Linked DNA regions of Homo sapiens: regions 2 and 3 are each linked to region 1. The links are contacts of gene promoters, found by promoter capture Hi-C in blood cells and fetal thymus (Javierre and others, 2016). All regions are on one chromosome and are shown on one strand. Each heading gives the region's core, a stretch centred on a gene start or on the middle of the fragment in contact. The rest is flanking DNA. Distances are from core to core; before and after follow the strand shown.

Region 1 (3,039 bases), core at 396-2,895:
CAGTGACGCAAATGACCCAAGGATAAGGTTTTCATAGGTTTGGCCTGAACATACGCATTTCCTCCTCCTACTCAGTGGTTTTAGGTGAGACAGTCTGAGGGTCTTGACCGGCACACCCGTTAGGGAGAGATGAAGTAAAAGAGTTTCACGCTGCACTTTTACCTGTCTTTAGGATCCTAATTATCGTTAAATGGTTTAATCAAATTTTTGTCCTAAAAAAGCATAATAGGTTAGCTGACCAATGATTAAAACATTATAGATCCGGAACGAACTAGAGAAGGCATGCAAAATTCAGATGAGAAAGTTTCTAAGTGATAGCTCCAGCTACCCCTCCAAATATCACAAAGGTCTAGCAGAATTGGAATTAAAAAAAAAAAGTCCTCTTGCACGGTTTATTTAAAATAAAGCCTTAACCTTAAAATTCCCTTGAAGGTGTTACAGCAAAGTAGGTATTCAGGCTCTGACCAACAAGGGGATGTAGACAGGCTGTCACCCAGGAGGGGCCGTTAGAGCTGGGCTCCCTGGGGATGCAAGGGGGTCCCACGGGGCAGTGGGCGAGGCAGATGCAGAAAGCACACCCAGCTGCCCCCACAACGCAGAGAAGCGTGGGGTGGGGAAAGGGAACTAATTCCACACTGCCTCCGGACCCCAAAGGCGAGGTGCGGGGGCGGGGGCGGGGGCGGGGGCGGATATCCCAGTGAGTGCTGCAGGAAATGATATCCAGACTCGGAGGGTGGATCTAGGAAGCCGCCAGGGCGAGGGCCCGGCGGGGGGGAGGGGGTGGGAGTGGGAACGTAGGATGTGGCTCCAAGGGGCAGGATGAGGGGGCGGGACGATCGAACGCGGATGTCGAGCCTAGGGAGGGCAAGGAGGGATGAAAAGCTAGCGGAGGGACGAGGGTGCAAGGAGCGGCTGGAGAGAGATGGGCTGCGGGCCTGGGGGCGCTGCCAGAGCGAGAGGAGGCGAAGCCCACGAGCTGGGTGGGCAGGAGGGCGGCAGGGTCTGTCCGGGCGGGGATGGGCGGGCGTGGGGATGCGCGGGCTGGGGCGCGGGGGTCGCAGAGCCGCAGGTCCGGCCCTGCCGGCGCGCACTTACCCCACTCGAGGAACTCGGCCACGTACTTGTCGCGGCGCAGGGCCGAGTGGCTGCACTCGGTGTACAGGCAGACGAGCACGTCGAGCAGCGTTTCCACGCTCAGGGCGCTCTCGTTGCGCCAGGGCCCGTCCAGGAGCAGCTGCTCCAGCTTCTTGAGCCGCACCTTGGCCGACATGGTGCCGCGCGGCCCGCTCCCGACGCGCCGGCCTCTCACCGCCGGCTCGGCCAGTCCGTCAGGGCGCGCCCTCGGGGGCTCGGCGGCTGCGAGCCCCGGCAGCAGCGGCGCCTCCTCGCCGCCCCGTCCGCGTCGTCGCGCCCCGGCCTAGGCCGACATCTTGGGCTCCGTCCCGACGGCGCAGAGTCTGGGGCGCCGGGCCCCGCGGGTCCATGGGCCGCTCTCCTCCCCTCGGCGCCGCCGCCCTCCCAGCTCGGGCGGCCCGCCCCCGCCGCCCTCAGCCCCGCCCGCGGCCGCGCCCTCCCCGCCGCCGCCGCCGCAGACTAGGAGCGGCGAGGAGCCTAGCGCTGCGCAAGCCCGGCCGGCGCCCGAGCCCGACCCCAGCCCCGACCCGGCGGCCCAGCCCCGCGGCCCGCAGCCAACCAGGGCGCGGCCAGCACCAGCGCAGCCAACCACTACGGGGCCGGCCGCCGCCGCGCTGACCTCAGCGCGCCGCCCCGCCCCGCGCCCGGCTCCCTGCTCCCGGCGGGCTCGGGCCTCGCCGCTTGCCGTAGGGAGCCGGGATGCTGGGAAGGCAGGGCCGGGCCTGGGGAGCGGCGCGGGGTGGGGGTGGGGGGGGCGGGGCGGGGCGAGTGGGCCGCTGAGATTGCGGAGCCCGCGCATGCGCAGAGCGCGCCTGGTGGGCGTGTGCGCCTTCGCCCTGCGGACCCGGTGCCTTCAGTATTCGGGGTCCGACCGCGCGCGTCGCGGATCCCGGGGCCGAAGACGACCCCAAGTATCGGAGAGGCAGAGTCGCGATCTCAGGCCGTCGAGCCCCGTCCCGCAGTCCGCGGGCCCATGTTGCCTGCGGGGCCTCGGACCTGCCCGGCCGAGGTGGGGGTCGAGGGCGGCCCGGCAGGCGCAGCTCTGATGGCCTCGGCGGGTTGTGGGCTATTTAAAACGGCTTGTCCCAGCTCGAAGCGGTCCTGGAAGACTCGGGCCCTACCCCTGACTTTACCGATGAGAGACTGAGGCCCAGACGGTGTGGGGTCAGGGCCCAGGCTTCTGGGGGATGCTGCCAAGGCGGGAGCCAGCGTCCCCAGTGCCCGGTGGATTCGTGATGGCTTGCAGAGGGTTTCAGTTTCCACTGTCCAGCCCTCCCTGCAGACCAATGCCTAGGTGTGACAGTTTGGTAGGAAAGGGGCCGGATATTTGTCTCCAGGCTGGGTTTGCCTAGCGAGTCGCTGCATTTACTAAGATTGTTGGTTAATTTGGGTGGCTGGGGGAGGGAGGCTGATGGAGATACCCCCCAACCCCAACAAACCCTTGGCGTCAGGAGAGGAGGGGCTTTTCCTGGAGCTTGCGGAAGGTCACCGAAATCGTGGGGGTATCTGAGAGCTTCTGGGGCGCGCGGGTGCAGGGGAAGGGGTCATGCTTCCGTGGAAGCGGTGGCCTCCAGGTGGAGCCGATGAAGGGGCAGATAGGGGTTTGAAGCAGGACGTTAAGGGAGCCTGAAGCAAAACTAATCTCTGGAGCTAAAAATAGGAGTGGGCCTGGCGCGGTGGCTCACACCTGTAATCCCAGCACTTTAGGAGGCCGAGGTGGGCGGATTGCCTGAGCTCAGGACTTCGAGACCAGCCTGGGCAACACGGTGAAACCCCGTCTCTACTAAAATACAAAAAACTAGCCGGGCGTGGTGGCGCGCGCCTGTAGTCCCAGCTACTCGAGAGGCTAAGGCAGGAGAATTACTTGAACCCGGGAGGCGAAAGTGCAGTGAGCCAAGATCGCTC
Region 2 (3,039 bases), core at 385-2,884, 370 kb before region 1:
GCAGCACGATCTGGGCTCACTGCAATCTCTGCTTCCTGGGTTCATGTGATTCTCCAGCCCCAGCCTCCTGAATAGCTGGGATTACAGGCACCCATTACCACACCCAGCTAATTTTTGTATTTTTAGTAGAGATGGGGTTTTGCCATGTTGGCCAGGCTGGTCTCAAACTCCTGACTTCAGGTGATCCGCCTGCCATGGCCTCCCAAAATGTTGGGATTACAGGTGTGAGCCACTGCGCCCTGTGATCTGTTCCATTTTTGAACATGTTCTTTCTTACAGAGCACTAAAAATCTGCCTCCCTGTAATTTGTAAAAGCTTTGTTTTCCTGAACTTTGCTAAATAAGTTTGCTTCCATATGTGTCCTTTAAATGTTCAGTCATCGTATCTCCTTTACTGTCTGAGTCCAAGCTAGTTGCTTCAGGTGCCTTTTCAGATGGTTTTTTTGGGGATCTCTTTTCATCTCCTGTTGTCCTTCTAAGTGTGTTCCAGTTGGCCACAATGTCCATCTTAAATTGTACTCAGAACTGAATATGAAGAATACTGAGCATTTTTTGAACCTTTATGCCAGCACAGTACTAAAATGTTTTTCATACTCCTGTATCATTCAGTGTTCACAGTAACCCAGGAGGAAGATTTTTTCTCTGTTTTACAGATGGCATCCCATAGTTCAAAGAGTCAGAGGGTTGTAAAAGTAGCACAGATAGTGAGTGGCGGAACCCCAAGTAGTTCACTCCTGGGTCATAATCTCACTTATTTCTCAGGCTGTGTTCATTTAGCCTGTTAGCCACTATCTTTCTGTTATTACAGTTTAAAGTTGTATTAGTCACTTTTCCTATTGTATTGCTTATTGGAGTCTTTGGAGTCAGAATTTAATTTTAATGTTATCTTATTTTTCATAGACCTAGAAGAAAAGGGCAGAATATGTAAAGTTAATTGATTTTTAAACAGTGGTGTTGCCTATAAAATAAATTTACAGTTTTATTGTAAGCCCTGATTACAATCGTTTTAAGTTTAAAGTTGGTTAAAACTTTAAACTTTAAAAAAACTAACCTGTCCACTGAGGCTCCCAGTGGACAGCGAGCTCGGCTTGTGGCTGAGACACACTTGAGCCAGGCCAGAGGCATAGGAGGACCAAATTTGACAGATATCAATACACGATTCTTACTGAGGCCTTTGAAACGGACCCTTGTCCTGGAATTACTGTCAGAAAAGAACCGGCCAGAAAAACAGACTCCCGAGCCACGAGTCCAGGTTTGGTTTCAGAATTGGAGAGGTGGAGCACGGAAAAGAAGCCAGAGCAGCGCCAGCGTGGAGGCCACCTGGGCGCAGGTCCCCCCGATCCCAGACCCTGGTCAGCCTGGGGTGCTGACCCCTACTGTTCCACCAGCGGGGCTTCCCCGGGGGTCCCAAGCAATGTGGGCAACTTCTCTTGGGAATCGGAGGATGCTTTGGGCCAAGCTCTCCTCTGGGGGCGCGCTGATGTTCCGTGCGCGAATGTGGCCCCCGCTGACCTGGAGATGGCAGCCAGTGCGCTCGGCCACGCTTAGGGAGATGTCCCTTGATCTCCGCCCTCGGGCCCAGTGCTGCTTCCGGGTCCCTCTTGCCACCAGCCCTTCCCACAGCTGGAAGCTGGCAGTGCTGGGCCTCAAGTTCATCCCGGGGCACCCGGCCTGCTCCCCATACACCAGTCCCTAGCTCTGCGGGGGCTGGGGCTGCACCCTCCTGCTGTGGAGCAGCAGCCGAGGTGGGGCTGGCAGCTGGGGGAGGCGCCTGGGTGCGCCGTGACCTGGGAGCAGCCCTCTCCGCCCCAGCCCCCGCAGCTCTGACCGTATCCCGCCTCTCTGCCTCTTTCCTGGCCATAGTCACAGCCACAGCCATCGCAGGACCCGGCTGAGCGCTAGGAACAGGTTCCTTGTCTTCCTCCAGAATCCAACTCGCACGGGAGGCCCCAGCACCCCTGCCCCCAACCCGCTGCGGAGTCTGAACCTCAAGCGGCTGCATAGCAAACCCGTGGAAATGACCTGTCAGTGTCAGGCAGTGGAAGACAGATGAACTAAGCAAGGGCTCATCGGTAGTGTTCACGTTATGAAAATTGAAGAGAAATATCAAGATTTATTTACTTTGTCACGGAAGGGCTTCCAGACATACCTTTCAGGGAAATCGAGTTGTTAGGGTGGAAGGGCCTTGGGGTGCATGAGACCTAGGGGTTTTCCTTAGATGGCATAAAAAAGGATTGACTTTATAGAATACATCTGTCTTTCCATTTATTAACCGAGTAAACACGGAGCACTGAGAGTGAACAAAGTCCACTAGCGAGAAGGCAGGATGAGGACGGCTTTGTAGAAATGCATTATTTTCTATCAGGAAAGAGCAATGATTTCTACTCTGGGAAAAAAACAAAACAAACACTTACCTAAAAGTAATATTTACATATTGTTGAAAGTTCATAGATAAAAGTATAAAGAATAAAAAAAATTCACCTATTATTCCATCACCCAGAGGTGATAATCGTTAAACATTTTGGGGTATTTCTTCCAATTTTTTTTGTATGTATTTATATAAGTGAGATGATAGATTATCTGTGTGTGTGTATGTGTGTATTGTCTTCCTGAGCATCGGACCTAAGCAGTTTCCACGTTGTTAAAACTGCTTATAAAGGTTTTAAATAACTAGGTGTAATACTTTATTACATGGATATGTCAGTATGTTTAACAATTACTCTATTGAAAATTTAGGTGTCTCAGTTTTGGAAGAATATGGAAGTCTTGGTTGTCCAGCATTTATTCTGACATTAAGTAGAAATAAGTGATTTAGGACATATTTCTAGCAGATACTAAAAAACTGTGTATAGGATGTCTGGAGATCCCTGGCTTTTCTTGTGTGTGTGTGTGTGTTTTTTTTTTCCTCTTCTTTTCAAAGTGGCTGTTCAGAGTTCTGCCTCTTAGGGTTACTGAAAGCTTATAAAGTTATGTTGTAATTATAAAAATAAATGCTATTTTAGAAAATTCAAATAGTACATAATGCATAATATATAATTGT
Region 3 (3,039 bases), core at 378-2,877, 350 kb before region 1:
AGCGATTCTCCTGCCTCAGCCTCCTGAGTAGCTTGGGACTACAGGTGCGTGCCACCACGGCCGGCTAATTTTTTGTATCTTTTTTTTTTTTTTTTGAGATGGAGTCTCACTGTGTCGCCCAGGCTGGAGTGCAGTGGCGCGATCTCGGCTCACTGAAAGCTCCGCCTCCCGGGTTCACGCCATTCTCCTGTCTCAGCCTCCCGAGTAGCTGGGACTATAGGCGCCCGCTACCACGCCCGGCTAATTTTTTGTATTTTTAGTAAAGACAGGATTTCACCATGTTGGCCAGGATGGTCTCGATCTCTTGACCTCGTGATCCACCCGCCTCGGCCTCCCAAAGTGCTGGGATTACAGGCGTGAGTCACCACATCCGGCCTAATTTTTTGTATCTTTAGTAGAGACGGGGTTTCACCATATTAGCCAGGATGGTCTCCATCTCCTGACCTCGTGATCCGCCTGCCTTAGCCACCCAAAGTGCTGGGATTACAGGCGTGAGCCGCTGCGCCCGGCCTTAAACATTTGATTTTTAAAGATTACTTTTTTATTTAAATAAACCAACTCATTTTTTATGTTTAGCTTCCAGATAAATCTATAGCAAGTCTGGTGAAATTTTACTATTCTTGGAAGAAGACGAGGACTAAAACTAGTGTGATGGATCGCCATGCCCGGAAACAAAAACGGGAGCGGGAGGAGAGGTGAGCACATGGCTGGGGTGTTGTCTAACCACTTAGGGGACTATCTAAGAGCCCCAGATACACAAAGGCAAGGCAGAATGACTGGTTTTCCCTCCGCGCCTTCCTGGTGGAACCACATGTTCATGAGATGTATTAGAGCGTGTCACATTATTCAGGTATTTTTTCTCACCACTCTTTCCCTGCAGTCAGTGAACTTCCATTTTGAGTCAGTTAACTTTGACCCATTTTTTTTCCTTCCCATTTAGAAGGGGTGGCTCCTTTTAATAAAAAAGAATCTTTTATTTTGTAGTTTGAGGTTTAACGTGGTATATTTTTACAAGATTCATTTGGTGTGTTTTTATGTTTGCCATGTGGAAACAAAAATACAACTTAGAGTTGCTGCTTCTTTTTTTGACCATCTGTTTTTTGTGTGTGAATGAGAAAGAGAAACATTTTATAATCTCTTAGTAAGGATATTAGTTTTAAGGATAGCTCAGTATGGAGAATACTTCTTAACCATCACTTCCTCAGTCTTATATGTAGCATAGAGAAGTAGAAATGGCCAGGTACTCACACTCAGAAATGGGCTCTGGTCTCAGCTCTGAAGATTCCACTTACATGCCACAGGCTACACTGGGATGTTTAAGGTCTTTAATTTATTTTTTAAAATGTGTAAAATTGTACATACTCACAGGCAGGTGACTTCAACATGCGTCTTCCCCAAGCTTCTGTTTTCCTTAACTCTAAAATGAAGATGTTTGAAGTCCAGAAGGCAGCATGCAGACCTAGTGGTTTCCTTGTTAGGGTGGTGAGATATATAGGTGGGTTTTAAAAAATCCTATTTTCCACATTTCCTGTAATATTTTTATCAATTAATAATAAAAAAATAAAATGAAGGAGGATGAAATATATGGTCCCCGGTGTCCCATCTCAGGATGGAATTTTATCATTTCAAATGAAAGAGTAACATGTGAGAACACATTGAAAGTTGAGTATCACTTTTGGAGAATTCAAACCTCTTGGCCCAAGTATAAATTGAGAGTGATGTTAAGAACATCTCCAAAGCTCTTTTAATTGTAAGAGCCTATAAAATTATCGACCATGATACATCTGCATATTTTTGCCTCTGACTTATATACTAGTAGGTTTATTTATGGATGAGTACTCTTATTAACTTTTAATGAAGCTTTTTCATTTCCCTAGTTTACTGTCTATATAGTAAGTCTGTTACTATAAGCAGATGCAGTTTACTAAGCAGCAATCAAAATTAAATAATACAGAGTGGGATTGGATATCCTTGAGTGTGAAATAAGAATACCTGCCAACACTTCCATTCTTACTCCCTGGAGGCTTTTTTTTTGCATTAGTCCCGATGGGGCCAGGAAGTGCTTTGCCTCCACCTCCCATGTGCACCTCAACCACTTTTGGGATGCGGGGATGGAGGTGCTGCAGCAGCACCTGATAAATTGTTGGCTTTCTAACAGGACTTGCCTGTGAAAGTCATGGCAGGGACTGGGACAAAATTCCCTTAGCCGAAGGCTCTTTCTTGTTGTGGACACTCTTTCCTCAGCTAGAGCTTCCTGCTACCTTGGTGGAGGATGGGGAGGAGGTGGCGCGTAGTGGGCATGGTCCCGTGGGATGGATTCCAGAGGCAGTGCGAGGTGGGCAAACTGGGGCAGGCTACTTGACTTCTGTAGACTTAGTTTTCTTTTTTTACAGTTGCATTCCTACCTACATCGGGGCTTTTCTTGTTTCTTTGTTTTAAATTAAATGAAATACTACATTCAGGATATTACAAAAAGCATTTAAAGTGCTATACCAATGTAAGTTTTCTTTTTAAAATTAAACATAATTTTAAAACATCAGTTGTCCAGGACACCAGAAAAGCCTCAGACTTTGTGTGGCCTTGGGTAGAAAGACGGTACTTGGAAAAGGATTTTTTTACTGTTAGCAGGTTTATTCCCAATGCAGTGGAAATTTATTCTCCCATAATTTCTCAGTTTTGTTTAGTAATCATATCCTAGTCCTCAATAGATAATTATGAGAAAATAACATGTAAATGCATTTTCATTTTGATATTTTCAGTTTACAGATATAGAGCAATAGTGTTTTAGATCTGGATTGGGAAGTTAGGAATCTATTTTAGTAGTTTCTCATCACTTAGACTGAAAGAACTATGGAGTTGGTATTCTGTTTGAATTACAAAGATGTTTTTATCTCAGCAGCCTGAAAACATACTAATTTTATATTAAATCAGTTTATTATTTATATTTGGTAAAATTAGTACAAAATTTTCAGTTAAATCAATTTATCGTTTGTATTCGGAAAATTAGTACAAAATAATCATTCAGTAACTTGTTCTTGT

What was found. The method cuts DNA at HindIII sites, captures the fragments that hold promoters and counts their contacts. A CHiCAGO score of 5 or more calls a contact.
Region 2: a contact is called between a fragment that was not itself captured here and the fragment with the promoter of CDC42BPB in region 1, in 1 of 17 cell types (total B cells). The highest score is 5.8, in total B cells.
Region 3: a fragment that was not itself captured here is called in contact with the fragment with the promoter of CDC42BPB in region 1 in 2 of 17 cell types (naive B cells and total B cells); the score reaches 5.9 in naive B cells.

Annotation. Positions count from the first base shown.
Region 1 is chr14:103,055,904-103,058,942 of GRCh38, forward strand. CDC42BPB (CDC42 binding protein kinase beta) reads right to left here and starts at 1,646. Exons shown (of 37, transcript NM_006035.4): 1 at 1,096-1,646. The coding sequence starts at 1,270. RefSeq lists silencers at 1,318-1,397, 1,488-1,987, 2,028-2,137 and an enhancer at 2,133-2,783. The HindIII fragment of the contact is 17,633 bases long and covers 1-3,039 here.
Region 2 is chr14:102,682,186-102,685,224 of GRCh38, forward strand. All of the region lies in intron 3 of RCOR1 (REST corepressor 1), which reads left to right. Among named protein-coding and RNA genes, the nearest start is that of RCOR1, 91 kb to the left of the region's middle. The HindIII fragment of the contact is 2,642 bases long and covers 314-2,955 here.
Region 3 is chr14:102,707,889-102,710,927 of GRCh38, forward strand. RCOR1 (REST corepressor 1) reads left to right here. Exons shown (of 12, transcript NM_015156.4): 6 at 577-695. Among named protein-coding and RNA genes, the nearest start is that of TRAF3, 68 kb to the right of the region's middle. RefSeq lists an enhancer at 1-1,012. The HindIII fragment of the contact is 461 bases long and covers 1,398-1,858 here.